Regions from separate parts of the Homo sapiens genome. Here regions 2 and 3 are each linked to region 1. The links are contacts of gene promoters, found by promoter capture Hi-C in blood cells and fetal thymus (Javierre and others, 2016). All regions are on one chromosome and are shown on one strand. Each heading gives the region's core, a stretch centred on a gene start or on the middle of the fragment in contact. The rest is flanking DNA. Distances are from core to core; before and after follow the strand shown.

Region 1 (4,423 bases), core at 1,924-4,423:
AAGATTTAATGTTTCACAGTACAGTATCTTTCTTTGGAAAAGAAAAAGTCAGTTCAGATATTAGGAACTATAAACCCAGACCTCATACTATGAGTCCTTTCATTATACTCAACTATGCCCTAGCATCAGAGAGAATAAATGAAAATCTCCCTGCTGAAGAATGTTAGCATGGGGTTGGGAAAATTGTATATATTTATTGGTCCTATATTTCTGTCCTTTACAAAGAATCTTTAATGTGTTGACCTTGAAGCCTCCCTCAGCTGAAGAACAGGATCTTATTCTTTTAAATCTGCCTGTTTTTATGTAGCCTATTAAAAGGAAAAGACTTCAGTAGGTTATTTTAGATATAGTATAATCATTTAAAAACTCTTTTTAAAAACCAAGGTGTGACTAATACAGTCATATTGAAACTATGGAAGAGATACAATGGTCTACTCCAGTGAAAAATATATTCAAGTTGATAAAGCAAAATTTCAAAAACCAAATGTGGCAAAATCATGTGAAAACACTTTCAATGTTCCTGTTTATTCTTTAAATGCATACATCATCTGGTTAAAGTGAGTAATCTAAAAATTAATTACTCACACTTGAACCATGTTACAAGAGGAGGTAATTCATCTTAGCAATAAGAAACTTTACCACTGTTTTTAGGGCCTTGAAATTATGAAATGAGCCAAAAGCAGAGCATCAAAGGGAAAACAGGTCAAAAGCCCTGTTTCAAAAATCTTTAGGGGCCTAGACTAAGCTACAAAAATGGACAATCCTCCTTATGTCTTGCCCAAGAAAATGTTTCTGTGTAATCTACAATAATCATGTTTTCACTTACGAGAAGCCACAATTCCTACAGCAACCTTAAAATGAAACCAAGAGGCGACAATAAAAACATTGCTTTAAAACAACTGTTCTTGAAAAATCCCTTTGGATCTGGAATCCATTACCACTGTATGGCTTGCCTTGTATCTCAATAACAGTCATCACAGGTGTTTGAAACAAGCAGGCCTTGGCTTTGGTGTTCCCCCCACCCAAAATGGGACAACTCTCTGATCATAATCACTCAGGCTGAGTGTAATCACCTACAGTTTTCTGAAGTGAGGGTCAATAATGTCTCCTTTTAGTTTCTATGAATAGCATTTTTCATAGTTGCTCAGATGCCTTCCCTCATGTAGGCTTGGGTAGGCCATGATATAAATAAAACACTGCCTAGATTATTTTATAAGCAGGGCAGTTTGCTGAATATACAACTGAGGGAGACAGGCTTGTTTTCATAACTTTGATAATAATCCTTCTGAGACACCATTTCCTCACCTGCTTTAATAACCCACCAGATAATTGTTGAAAGATCACCCCCTTACGAGTCTCCCAAGTAGACTGAAAATAATAACTACAAGAGATTATTTAGCAGTAAATTACAGCTGATCTACAGAAGTTCTTTAAAGCAAAAAAAAAAAAAAACAAAAAAAAAACACTACCATCTCATTAGAGTGACCAGAGATTCTAAATAGTCCAAGGAATCTTTGCAGGAGGAATAAAGATAAATTAGATAAATTATAGTATCAATTAACATTTATTGAGTGTTTATGTGCCAGGCACTGTTCTATGTGATTTACACGTGCTATCCCATTTATTTCTCAAAACAGCCCAGTGAATATATACCAAGATTATCCCCAGTTAGACAAAGGGTGACAAGAAGAATAAAATATTAACTATCTTCTGTTAATAAATTAACTACTACCAGCACCCTCATCATATATGTTTATCCAATTCTTTTAGTTCAAATGTTTATCTGTCTATACCCACTGACCTGATTCCCATATCCTAAAGCCCCTTCTCATCCTCTCCAACCTTATCAACTGCCATTACTGGCAGGTGCGTATGCACTAGACCTTATTTTTGGTAAATTTTAAAATAATCATAACTATCGTCTACTATATGCAAATCCCTGTTCTAAGTACTTTACGTATATTCAACTATTAATCATAACTGACATCAATATATGAGGTTGGTAAAATTATTATCTCAGTTTTCAGATGAGGAAACTGAGGCACACAGAGGTTACATAACTTGCCCAAAGTCATGTAGTTAGTGGCAGAGCCAGGATTTGAATCCAGCCAGTAAGCATTCAGAGTCCACACTCAGCCATTGTTTATACTGCTTTTGAAGCATATTAAGAATTAACTCTTAAAAGTCAAGAAATCTGTGCTATGTTTTGTTTCCTTTAACATTTGGTGCACAGGACATCACACTGCAAACACGGAGTGTATTCCACAACTCTCTAAGGTAAACAATAATAAAATAGAAATTTATCAAGCTTCCTTCATCTAGTAAATATTCTTTTTGTTGTAACACAAGTATGAAATTCTGAATAATTCAAACACTTCTATGCTTAGTCCCTGCTTACTTACTACAGAATTATTAAAGAATTACCCAAAAGTTCTTGGACTGGAAAGATGTGAAAAAGCCACTAACTCTATTTTCCTAGAATGAAGATGAAAAGAAGATGTGTTTAGGAACCTTCTCTGCTTCCCTAAAAGAACCCTAAAAACAGGAGTAAAAACAGTGAAGAAAACAAAGGACCTTCAAAGTGCACTCGTTAAAACCTAATAACTGTATTTCTATTACTAAATGTAGAAGTGGTAAACATCTTTAACAGGCAATGTCTCCCCTGCACTCTAGGGATTCAAAGATCCATCTTTCGGTTCTGTAAGACAGTCACGGCTTTTGTAACCTCGGTGCCCCCTTCAACCTCCCGCCCCAAGCACCTCCAGGGTCGTCAGGGGTGTAGTTTTGAGTCGCGCTCCTAAGCATCCAGACAGGCAGGACACCGTAACGACATCTCTGCCGGGAGTCCCTTCAGACTGCGGTCTCCAGGTAACCGCACTCCAACAGAAGCAGTTGTGCTTCCTATCGGGTCACCTGTTCAAAAGTCCCCAGGAGAGGCTCCAGCAATACCAGGGTAGCGGTTTGCCCGACACCGCTCCGGGCGCTGCAGCCTTCCGGCAACCCGGACGTTGGGTCGGTGTCAGCCACTCTCACCTCCCATTCCCTAGTTTTCCTCCTTTGCTCCCGTCTAGTCACTTCGCACCTTCGGCTAGTCTTTATTCACAGACACATTCCAGGAGTCCCCTCTCCCAGAGCAACAAAGACAGATTTCCAAAGCTACACATCCCAGAGAGAACGGATTCTTGGGAAATGTGGTTCTTTCAGCTGACGCATGGTGACTCTTTACGGAAAAGGACTACAATTCCCAGAAATCCTAGGGAGCATATAGTCCGTGGCTAAAACATGTCCCAGCTCCTTGGATGGAATGGCAGTAAAGGTTCTGTGGCTCTTTACTGACCTAACTCCTTGGATTTTCCTCATTCAGTCCCACTGCAAGCGTGTGGGAGGACTTAAAAAAATGCTATTCACATGTGAAGGAATCTAAATACGATGATTATATGAAGCGATCTCTAAGTCATTTTATTTTATAATTCTTTCAGACAAAAATCTACGTACCATCAGAAACTATGTCTCTGCAGATGGTAACAGTCAGTAATAACATAGCCTTAATTCAGCCAGGCTTCTCACTGATGAATTTTGATGGACAAGTTTTCTTCTTTGGACAAAAAGGCTGGCCCAAAAGATCCTGCCCCACTGGAGTTTTCCATCTGGATGTAAAGCATAACCATGTCAAACTGAAGCCTACAATTTTCTCTAAGGATTCCTGCTACCTCCCTCCTCTTCGCTACCCAGCCACTTGCACATTCAAAGGCAGCTTGGAGTCTGAAAAGCATCAATACATCATCCATGGAGGGAAAACACCAAACAATGAGGTTTCAGATAAGATTTATGTCATGTCTATTGTTTGCAAGAACAACAAAAAGGTTACTTTTCGCTGCACAGAGAAAGACTTGGTAGGAGATGTTCCTGAAGCCAGATATGGTCATTCCATTAATGTGGTGTACAGCCGAGGGAAAAGTATGGGTGTTCTCTTTGGAGGACGCTCATACATGCCTTCTACCCACAGAACCACAGAAAAATGGAATAGTGTAGCTGACTGCCTGCCCTGTGTTTTCCTGGTGGATTTTGAATTTGGGTGTGCTACATCATACATTCTTCCAGAACTTCAGGATGGGCTATCTTTTCATGTCTCTATTGCCAAAAATGACACCATCTATATTTTAGGAGGACATTCACTTGCCAATAATATCCGGCCTGCCAACCTGTACAGAATAAGGGTTGATCTTCCCCTGGGTAGCCCAGCTGTGAATTGCACAGTCTTGCCAGGAGGAATCTCTGTCTCCAGTGCAATCCTGACTCAAACTAACAATGATGAATTTGTTATTGTTGGTGGCTATCAGCTTGAAAATCAAAAAAGAATGATCTGCAACATCATCTCTTTAGAGGACAACAAGATAGAAATTCGTGAGATGGAGACCCCAGA
Region 2 (4,423 bases), core at 689-3,188, 6.7 Mb before region 1:
TATTTTTAGTAGAGATGGGGGTTCACCATGTTGGCCAGGCTGGTCTCGAACTCCTGATCTCAACTGATCTGCCCATCCACGCCCCTTAAAGAATTGGGATTACAGGCGTGAGCCACCGTGCCTGGCAGTTTTTACCTTCTTAATGAACAGAATATTCCTCCTTCACAACCGACCTACACACTCTATCCACATGTACAGCAGAACATCCGTATACATTTCTTACTGATAAAAGTGAAATTCCCTACTGACAGGGAATGAAGGAAAAAAAATCATTTGCTATTTCAAACTGGTATATTCTTAATTCTAGATTAAGCTACAATAAATCTCCAACATGAAATTTTTTTTTTTTCGTTCAGCTCAGAAAAGTCCTATTTGAATTATGTTAAGAAAAGGGGACGGGAAAGGTACTCCCACGACTGTTAATAGACTAGAATCTTCCACTTTCTCCAAGAAGGGATGCGTAAGCAGAAAAATCACAAAGTTCTAAGCGCTGAAAAGCTATGGTGTGGGATTTCTAAAACAATGATCAAGGTTACCTCCAGGAGAGCCTGGTTCTTTTCCCAAGAACACACATACCCAACCACTTATCAAGTTCAATGTACTCCAGTACTTGAAAACTCATACAGGGAACAAATGACTTGTATGGATAATTCAACACTGCTGAGAAACTGTGTATCGGGGGCAAGCATCGTTAAGAGAGCTCTTCCAGACAACTCCATTCAGAGCTGCGCACTCACACTCTCCTTCGCCCAGCCCTGTTTTATTTTCTTCAAACATGTTTCATTAAAAAGAATAAATTTTTAAAAAAAACCTTTTTTTTTTTTTTTGAGACGGGGTCTTGCTTTGTCTCCCAGGCTGGAGTGCAGTGAAGCGATCTCGGCTCACCGCAACCTCTGCCTCCCGGGTTCAAGCAATCCTCCCACCTCAGCCTCCTGAGTAGCTAGGATTACAAGCGCGTGTCACCACGCCCGGCTAATTTTTGTATTTTTAGTAGAGACAGGGTTTCACCATGTGGGTCAGGCTGGTCTCGAACTCCTGACCTCGTGATCCGCCCGCCTCGGCCTCCCAAAGTGCTCGGATTACAGGCGTGAGCCACCAAGCCGGGCCTCACAATGCCTATCTTTCTTACTACACTCCCTCCTAACTGTACATTCTGGGAGAGCGCGGACCTTTCCATCTGTATCTCCAGCGCTCGGCACTCAAAAAAATGCACTGAATAAATGAAACCGTGAGCTCTCATCAAAGTCTGGACCAAAGAGTCCCTCTTCTGTTTCTCACAAACTTCTGTCTCCTAAACACTCTTCTTCAATTAGTAGCAGAATTTTGCCTCCCCCCCAAAAAAAACACATCTTGACCTCATGAAGAAAACTCCCGATCTAATCTTGGAAGCACTGAGCTCCACCGAAAAGGAGAAAGGCTTAAGAGAATCCTGTAGAGAAAAGCTCCGTGAGAAGAATTAACGTGAGCCTGAACGGGCTGAGTTAGGTTACGCCACGGTGAGAAAAGGCTGGGCAAGGGAGGCAAGGAAGCCTGGAACCCTGGGGACCGCGGTCTCCCTGGTGAAACCAGAGTCTACACTCCCAGAGAGGCCCACCCCGACGAGACGGCCTGAGGAGGCTAGGAGGCCCCGGGAGGATGAAGCCGCAGCCCCCGCTCGGCCCGGGGAGTGCGGCGGGAAGCGCTTTCGAAAGGCCGCGGAGCGCCAGGCCCTGCAGGCCGCCCGGGGACTCAACTCACCTGGCCCACTTGCTCCGTGGCATCGGCCAGGATGCCATAATTGCGGTAAAGCTCCTCTACTGTCGGCATGGTGAGCGACAAGCCCAGGGCCCGGTTCCGCTATCCTTGTCCTGACCGGCGCCACCGCCGCCTCGGAACTTCTCCAAACCCACTACCCGCACTATTACACCTCCAGCTGCCGCCAGTGCAGCCGCCAGTCACCGCGCACAGCGCGGCTGCGCCCCCGACGTCTACGTAAAGACGCGCACGTCGGGAGCGGCCTTCAGTAGACACCCCCCACCCCAATGCGCCTCCGCGGTTTTTGTCGCCCTCTACAGCCTGGAGGAGCAAAAAAGCGGCAAGGATGATTGAATTAGCTCACGCCTTTTTGAAAGCTTGAGCTTGGCTGCAGGCTCTCCATGGAAGGGGTGTGGGTGGGCGGGGAAGTGAATACAAAGACAATTGCGTTTCTGCCCTTAGAAGATCTTACATATGAGAAGTCACAAATGGTTTCCTCCTGATTCAAGGAAGGTAATATTAATCGGTGGCACTAGAGGCTAGTGGGTCCGGTGGGAAGCAAAAAACATTCCTATGCTATTAAAAAACCCTCTGTGTCCACCACGCTCATCAAGTGCGGGGTCAAATTTGGCCTGCTGGAAGAATTTGCTTATCTTTGCTGCCAGTGTAAAGAATTGGGGCCACCTGATTATGTCCAGTATCCAAAAGAATAATAAATAAATGAAATCACGTACGCTTACTGATAAGAATTTCTAAGATACAAGTTTAAATGAAATTATATATATAATATGATATAATATATAATATTTTATATATTATATAATATATAACATTATATATTAATATATAATAATTTTATATATTATATAATATATAATATTATATATTAATATATAATATTATATATTATATAATATATAACATTATATATTAATATATAAATATATAATATATAATATAAATATAATAATATTATATTAATATATAAATATATAATATATAATATAAATATAATAATATTATATTAATATATATTAAGATAATAATATTAATTAATACATTAATTATATAATATAATTATAATATATCTATATATTGAGATATAATATTAATTAATATATCAATATTATCAATTATATATTATAATTATCTTATATTATATATAATATATTAATTATATAATTAATATATTAATATTATTATCTTAATATATATTAATATATTATTATATTTATATATCATATATAATATTATGATATTAATATTATAATATATATTATATATTATATTATATATACAATTATATATATAATATATATTATATATTGTATATTATTATATAATTATATATTAAGATAATAATATATATTAAGATAATAATATATTATATATATTAAGATAATAATATATATTATATATATTAAGATAATAATATATATTTATATATTAAGATAATTATATTTATATAATAATATTATATATATATATAGCCGTGTGCGGTGGCTAACGCCTGTAATCTCAGCACTTTGGAAGGCTGAGTTGGGTGGATCACTTGAGGTCAGGAGTTCAAGATCAGCCTGGTCAACATGGTGAAACCCTGTCTCTACTAAAAATACAAAAATTAGCCAGGCGTGGTGGCATGCACCTGTAGTCCCAGCTGCATGAGAGGCTGAGGCAGAAGAATTATATGCACATAGGAGGCAGAGGTTGCAGTGAGCCCAGATCATGCCACTGCAATCCAGCCTGGGCCACAGAGCAAAACTCTATCTCAAAAAAATTAAAAGAAAAAGAAAAAGAAAAAGAAAAAGAAAAGTTAAAAGGCAGGTATAAGATGATCCCATTATGTAAAACATACAAAGCATACAAAACAAAGTTATGTGTGTATGTGTAAAAGGATGTTAAAGGATGTTAACATTTCAGGATTGAAATATCAAACTATAATAGACTGTAAATTTCAAAGCCACATCCACTTGTACAGAACATACACGGGAAATGATTACAAAAGAACTCCCCGGCTCTTGTACTTCTCAGTTAGATTGAGGATAAATCTCACATCCTAAAAAGGATTAGAGCTGAGCGTGATAGCCAACAGTCCCAGCTATTTGGGAAGCTAAGCGGGGAGAACCACTTGGGCCCAGGAGTTCAAGTCCAGCCTGGGCAACACAGCACGACCCCTGTCTGAAAATAAGAAATCAAGTGTAAAATTCAATGTTAAAAAAAATTGCAGGCCAGGCGCGGTGGCTCACGCCTGTAATCCCAGCACTTTGGGAGGCTGAGGCGGGCGGATCACGAGGTCAGGAGATCAAGACCATCCTGGCTAACACGGTGAAACCCTGTCTCTACTAAAAATACAAAAAATTAGCTGGGTGTGGTGGTGGGCGCCTGTAGTCCCAGCTACTTGGGAGGCTGAGGCAGGAGAATGGCGTGAACCCGGGAGGTGGAGCTTGTAGTGAGCCGAGATTGTGCCACTGCACTCCAGTCTGGGTGACAGAGCAAGACTCTGTCTCAAAAAAAAAAAAAAAAAAAAAATTGCAATTTGGACTCTTGTGGAGAAAAAGAAAAAGAATTAGAGAATAAAATGAGAATTGGTGATTTTTTTATTTTTATGTTTTTGAGAAAGATGTCTTGTGAGTAGGTTGAGGGCAATTTCTACCCCCTTCCCTCAAGCGTGGGGCCATTTTGAGGAGCC
Region 3 (4,423 bases), core at 1,408-3,907, 5.2 Mb after region 1:
GAATGATGCCACCTTGAACATCTCTAGCCCTCAAACTCCCTTCTGTCCACAGCTTGGTTCTTCCTTGTGTAGGTAGATATGCTCCGGTACTCCAGGTTTTTTGTTTTTTACAGCAAAAGCATTTTATTTTGATTTACTATTTATTAGGTTATTGTGTTACCTTATTTATTTATTGGGGTTTGGAAAGTAAGAAATAGTTTTTTTCCCCAGCAATACCAAATATTTTGTCATTTCATCTCTACATACTTTAGTTTGCATCCCTAAAATGTACCAACTTTTTCTTTTATCTCCATAATGTCATTATTGGACTGTCACATAATATCTAGACCTTACTTACATTTCCACGGTTAATTGAAAATGTCTTTTTCTGGTTGGTTTGCTTGACTCAGAATCAGACAAAATGTACACTTTCCATTTAGCTGTTCTGTCTCTTAAATATCTTTTAAATTATAGCAGTCCCATTTCTTCACTAGAACCTTGTTTTTTTCTTTACTTGCCATTGGCTTACTGAATGAGAACAGTTGTCTTACACTCTGCTTATACCAAAATAAACTTCTTAAAACAATTTTTACATAAATTTCTGATCATTAAGCTTCCTTCATTTTTCATTTTATAGAGCAGTACTTTCCAATAGAAATATAATGTAAGCCGTAAGTGCAAGCTACAAAATTAATTAATCTAAAAATTATTAAGGCGATACTTTACATTCTTTTCTCCTACTAAGTCTTCAAAAGCTGGTATGTATTGTGCCCGAACACACCTCAATTTGAACTAGCACATTTCAAATGCTCAGTAGCCACATGTGACTAGTGGCTACTGTATCCAGCAGGGCAGGTCTAGAGAATAAAGTCCTAACTCCTTAACCTAGCATTCAAGTTACCTCTTCAATATGATCCTTACTTTTCCAACCTCCCCTATTATCTCCATACATTAAACATTTAAACAATTGGATCTTTTCATGGTACTGAAATCAACCCAACAGTCCCATAGACAGGGTTTTGTTTGTTTGTTTAGTTTTGTTTATTGGGGTTTTTTAAATTAATAAACATAGAAATGGACACTTCTTTTCTGAAAGCTTGAAACTTGCATTTGTTTTATCTTTTTGTTTGCTTGTTTGAGACAGAGTCTTGCCCTGGTGTCCAGTCTGGAGTGCAGTGGCATGATCTCAGCTCACTGCAGCCTCTACCTCCCAGGCTCAAGTCATCTGCCCACCTCAGATTCCCAAGTAGTTGGGACCACAGGTGCATGCCACTATGCCTGGCTAATGTTTGTATTTTTTTTTGTAGAGATGGAGTTTCACCATGTTGGCCAGGCTGGTCTGGAACTCTTGAGCTCAAGCAATCTGCCTGCCTCAGCCTCCCAAAGTGCTGAGATTACAGGCATGCGCCACTGCGCCCAGCCACATTTTGTTGATCTTTATCTCAGTTCCTTCCTCAAGAAAGGATGCCCAGACCTCTCAACAAGTATCAAAGAGCTGAAACTCACCAGATTACTGCATCTAGACAGTGATATGCCAGACCCCTCATTCTTCGTTATTGTTTCCTTACCCTTCCTTAGTTCCTGTTTTCTCATACGTAGTTAACATTTCTTCCCTGTTATATAAACCCCTAATTTTAGTCAGTGAGGAAGGTGAATTTGACACTGATGTCCCATCTCCTTGGCTGCAGCATCTGATTAAAGCCTTCTTCTTTGACAATAATCATTGTCTCAGTGATTGACTTTTTGGGTGGTAAGCAGCAAGACATAGATGGAACTCCTGGTGTTTTGGTAACAGCATTTCATCAATAATTGTGTTCAAATGCTTCTCCTTACTTATAACACCCTAATTCTTTTCTTCCTCCTATCAGAGTAATCCCTGCTTTAAGGCCTATCTCTTCCATCAAGCCTTTTATGATGGCCTGGTCCTTAGAACTTACTGCCGCCCCTCAACTTTCATAGCAAGTCCTTTGTATATCACAGTATATTGTTTTCCTTAGAATATATTCTGATTCCCCAGTTGGGTTGCAAGCTTTCTGAGAGCAAGAACACCTCTCCAGAGAAACTAAGAACCAGCTATCTTGCCTCATTCTCTGGAGTTCTAATGATACATAGCTCTAATAGTTTTGTTTCTCAGTATCTTATATTTAAAAGGCAATTTATCCATTTTATGTGAAACTTACATAGTGGAAATATAAACTATGTTAGTATCATGGTTAAAAGCATGAACTCTAGAGTCAGAACATATGTGTTTAGTCCAGGCTTTTCCTCTTACGGCTATGTGAACTTAATTCATCTCTTTGCTTTGGTTTCTTCCTCTGTAATATGGGAGTAATAATAGTATTTCCCTCATAGATTTGTTGTGGGAATTAAATGAGATAGTTGTGCCTGAAAGTAATAAGTATTCAGTAAAGGTTAGCTATTGTTGTTATTATTAATTAATAATATTTGTTGCACATTTGATATATTAGAATGTTGGACATTCATAACAGTATTTTAGGAATTTCCAAAGAGAGCAAATGACAGCAAGAAACAATTGAATTGGAAAAATAAAATCAAACCCAAATATTTGTTGAACTGTACATTTGGTTGGACTTCAGAATAAATTAAAAGGATAGGCAAAACTTTAGTTTGCGTCATCAGCATCTAACATAACCAAGGTAGGCGTATATTAAATATTTGATTCCCAGATGATTGATCAAGTGCTATAGATGTAGCTAGATACATCAGGAGTTTAAGATCCTTTGTCATGATGATAGGAAAAAATGACATTGTTATTAAATCTATCACTTTGGTACACGCCTGCCCGTAAACTAACGTCTACCAGACATTCACAAATTCTTAATTTGATGTCATACTAGTCAATTGTGCTTCTCATTGATGGATAATAATGGAAATCTATATCTATATTATATAGATGTATACATATAGTGTACTTCTGCTAATTATTTCCTATTCAGGATTATATTTACTTGGCTCTTTTGGTAGTTCCATCACCAACTATTCCTTCATTTCCTTGATTTTTATTTCTGAATTTTAGGATTTTTATACCAGTGAACTAAGCTGTATTTAAGTACCATGGGATATGATGGTTATGTTCCAAAATTGAATGATTGTCTCTAGAGCAACTTATAATCTACTGGGAAGATAGAAAAACCACCAAAAACTAGCTAGTTATTTGATTTTTAAAAGTCAATGATATATATACAGCCTTCATTCACCTATTGACTCAATCGACAAATATTTGTTGAGTGTCTCTTATGTACCCCACACTCCGTTAGTTACAAGAGACACAAAACAAAGTTGACTGTAGTCCTGTCAAAAGCTTAGTTTATCTGGGTAAACAGACATTTAAAAAGGAACTGAAATAACTGTAGGAAGTACTATGCCAGAGGAAATACCAGGTGCTGTGACATTAATTAATAACTTGCAGGTATACTAATACGTAGAATAGATTACTTGAATGATTAAAATCCTTGAATCAAGATGAAGCTAATCCAGGAAGATGTATGAAATGTTAAGTTTTAAATAGTGTTTTGAAGGAAGGGAGAGGTGAATGACTAGGATGAAAGAAACTTCCTTTCTTCTTTTTTTTTTTTTTGACAGATTAACATAAAGCTTTAGATAGTATTGAGAATCAGCTCTAATGAATAATCCTAGCTCATCTTTTAGAAATGGTTTTCATTTTTCCCTTTGTTGGTTGTCTTAACTCAGTCTATTATCTGCTTTGCCATTTTGACAATAGTCATCATCGATGAACTTTCGTTGAGTTTGTGCAAGGCAGTACACTAAGCAGGAGAGAAAGAGGAAGAGGTAAATATTTTTTGCGGGCACCGCACTTGTTGCTGTGTTTTTCTTGTTTTTTAGCATTATGTGTCAGTTCTTTCTAACTTTTTTCAGACCTCTTATAGGTCTTTATCTTATCTGAGATTTATGTTCCTGTTTTCCTATCTTCACATCTAATGTTTTAATCATTCCATGAGCCTATTAAAAATATTGTCTGTAATCCATCTTCTATTTATCTTTAATAGTCATACAAATACCAACTTGTTTTTTCCCCCATTCACTTGTTTGCCCTTTTCTCTTTTTTCTTATCACCACTCTGGTTTTTCTATGCACTTTCCAACTACACTGAAATTTGTGGTGATCTCTTCCAGTCATGTGGGGATATGCATTTATATACAGAAGCTCCTTGACATGTGATGGGATTATCTCTGATAAGCCCATTTTAAGTTGAAAATATTATTAGTGCCTTAATACATCTAGCCTACTGCACATCATAGCTTAACATAGCCTACTTTAATTGTGCTCAGAACACTTTCTTTAGCCTACAGTTGGGCAAAATCATGTAGCACACACTACACCATAGAGTATTGGTTGTTTACCCTCAGAGAGTGCATGGTTCACTGGCAGCTGCTGCTCCCTGCCACTGCCCAGCATCATGAGA

Evidence for each region. The method cuts DNA at HindIII sites, captures the fragments that hold promoters and counts their contacts. A CHiCAGO score of 5 or more calls a contact.
Region 2: the fragment with the promoter of API5 here is called in contact with the fragment with the promoter of IFTAP in region 1 in 1 of 17 cell types (erythroblasts); the score reaches 5.3 in erythroblasts.
Region 3: a contact is called between a fragment that was not itself captured here and the fragment with the promoter of IFTAP in region 1, in 1 of 17 cell types (monocytes). The highest score is 5.8, in monocytes.

Annotation. Positions count from the first base shown.
Region 1 is chr11:36,593,252-36,597,674 of GRCh38, reverse strand. It overlaps IFTAP (intraflagellar transport associated protein), which reads right to left and starts at 3,173. Exons shown (of 6, transcript NM_138787.4): 1 at 3,083-3,173. RAG2 (recombination activating 2) reads left to right here. Exons shown (of 2, transcript NM_000536.4): 2 at 3,480-4,423. The coding sequence starts at 3,507. RefSeq lists an enhancer at 3,127-3,266. The HindIII fragment of the contact is 5,310 bases long and covers 2,311-4,423 here.
Region 2 is chr11:43,309,511-43,313,933 of GRCh38, reverse strand. API5 (apoptosis inhibitor 5) reads right to left here and starts at 1,938. Exons shown (of 14, transcript NM_001142930.2): 1 at 1,738-1,938. The coding sequence starts at 1,806. RefSeq lists an enhancer at 1,410-2,185. The HindIII fragment of the contact is 11,672 bases long and covers 1-2,113 here.
Region 3 is chr11:31,363,992-31,368,414 of GRCh38, reverse strand. All of the region lies in intron 1 of DCDC1 (doublecortin domain containing 1), which reads left to right. Among named protein-coding and RNA genes, the nearest start is that of DCDC1, 3.5 kb to the left of the region's middle. The HindIII fragment of the contact is 1,293 bases long and covers 2,011-3,303 here.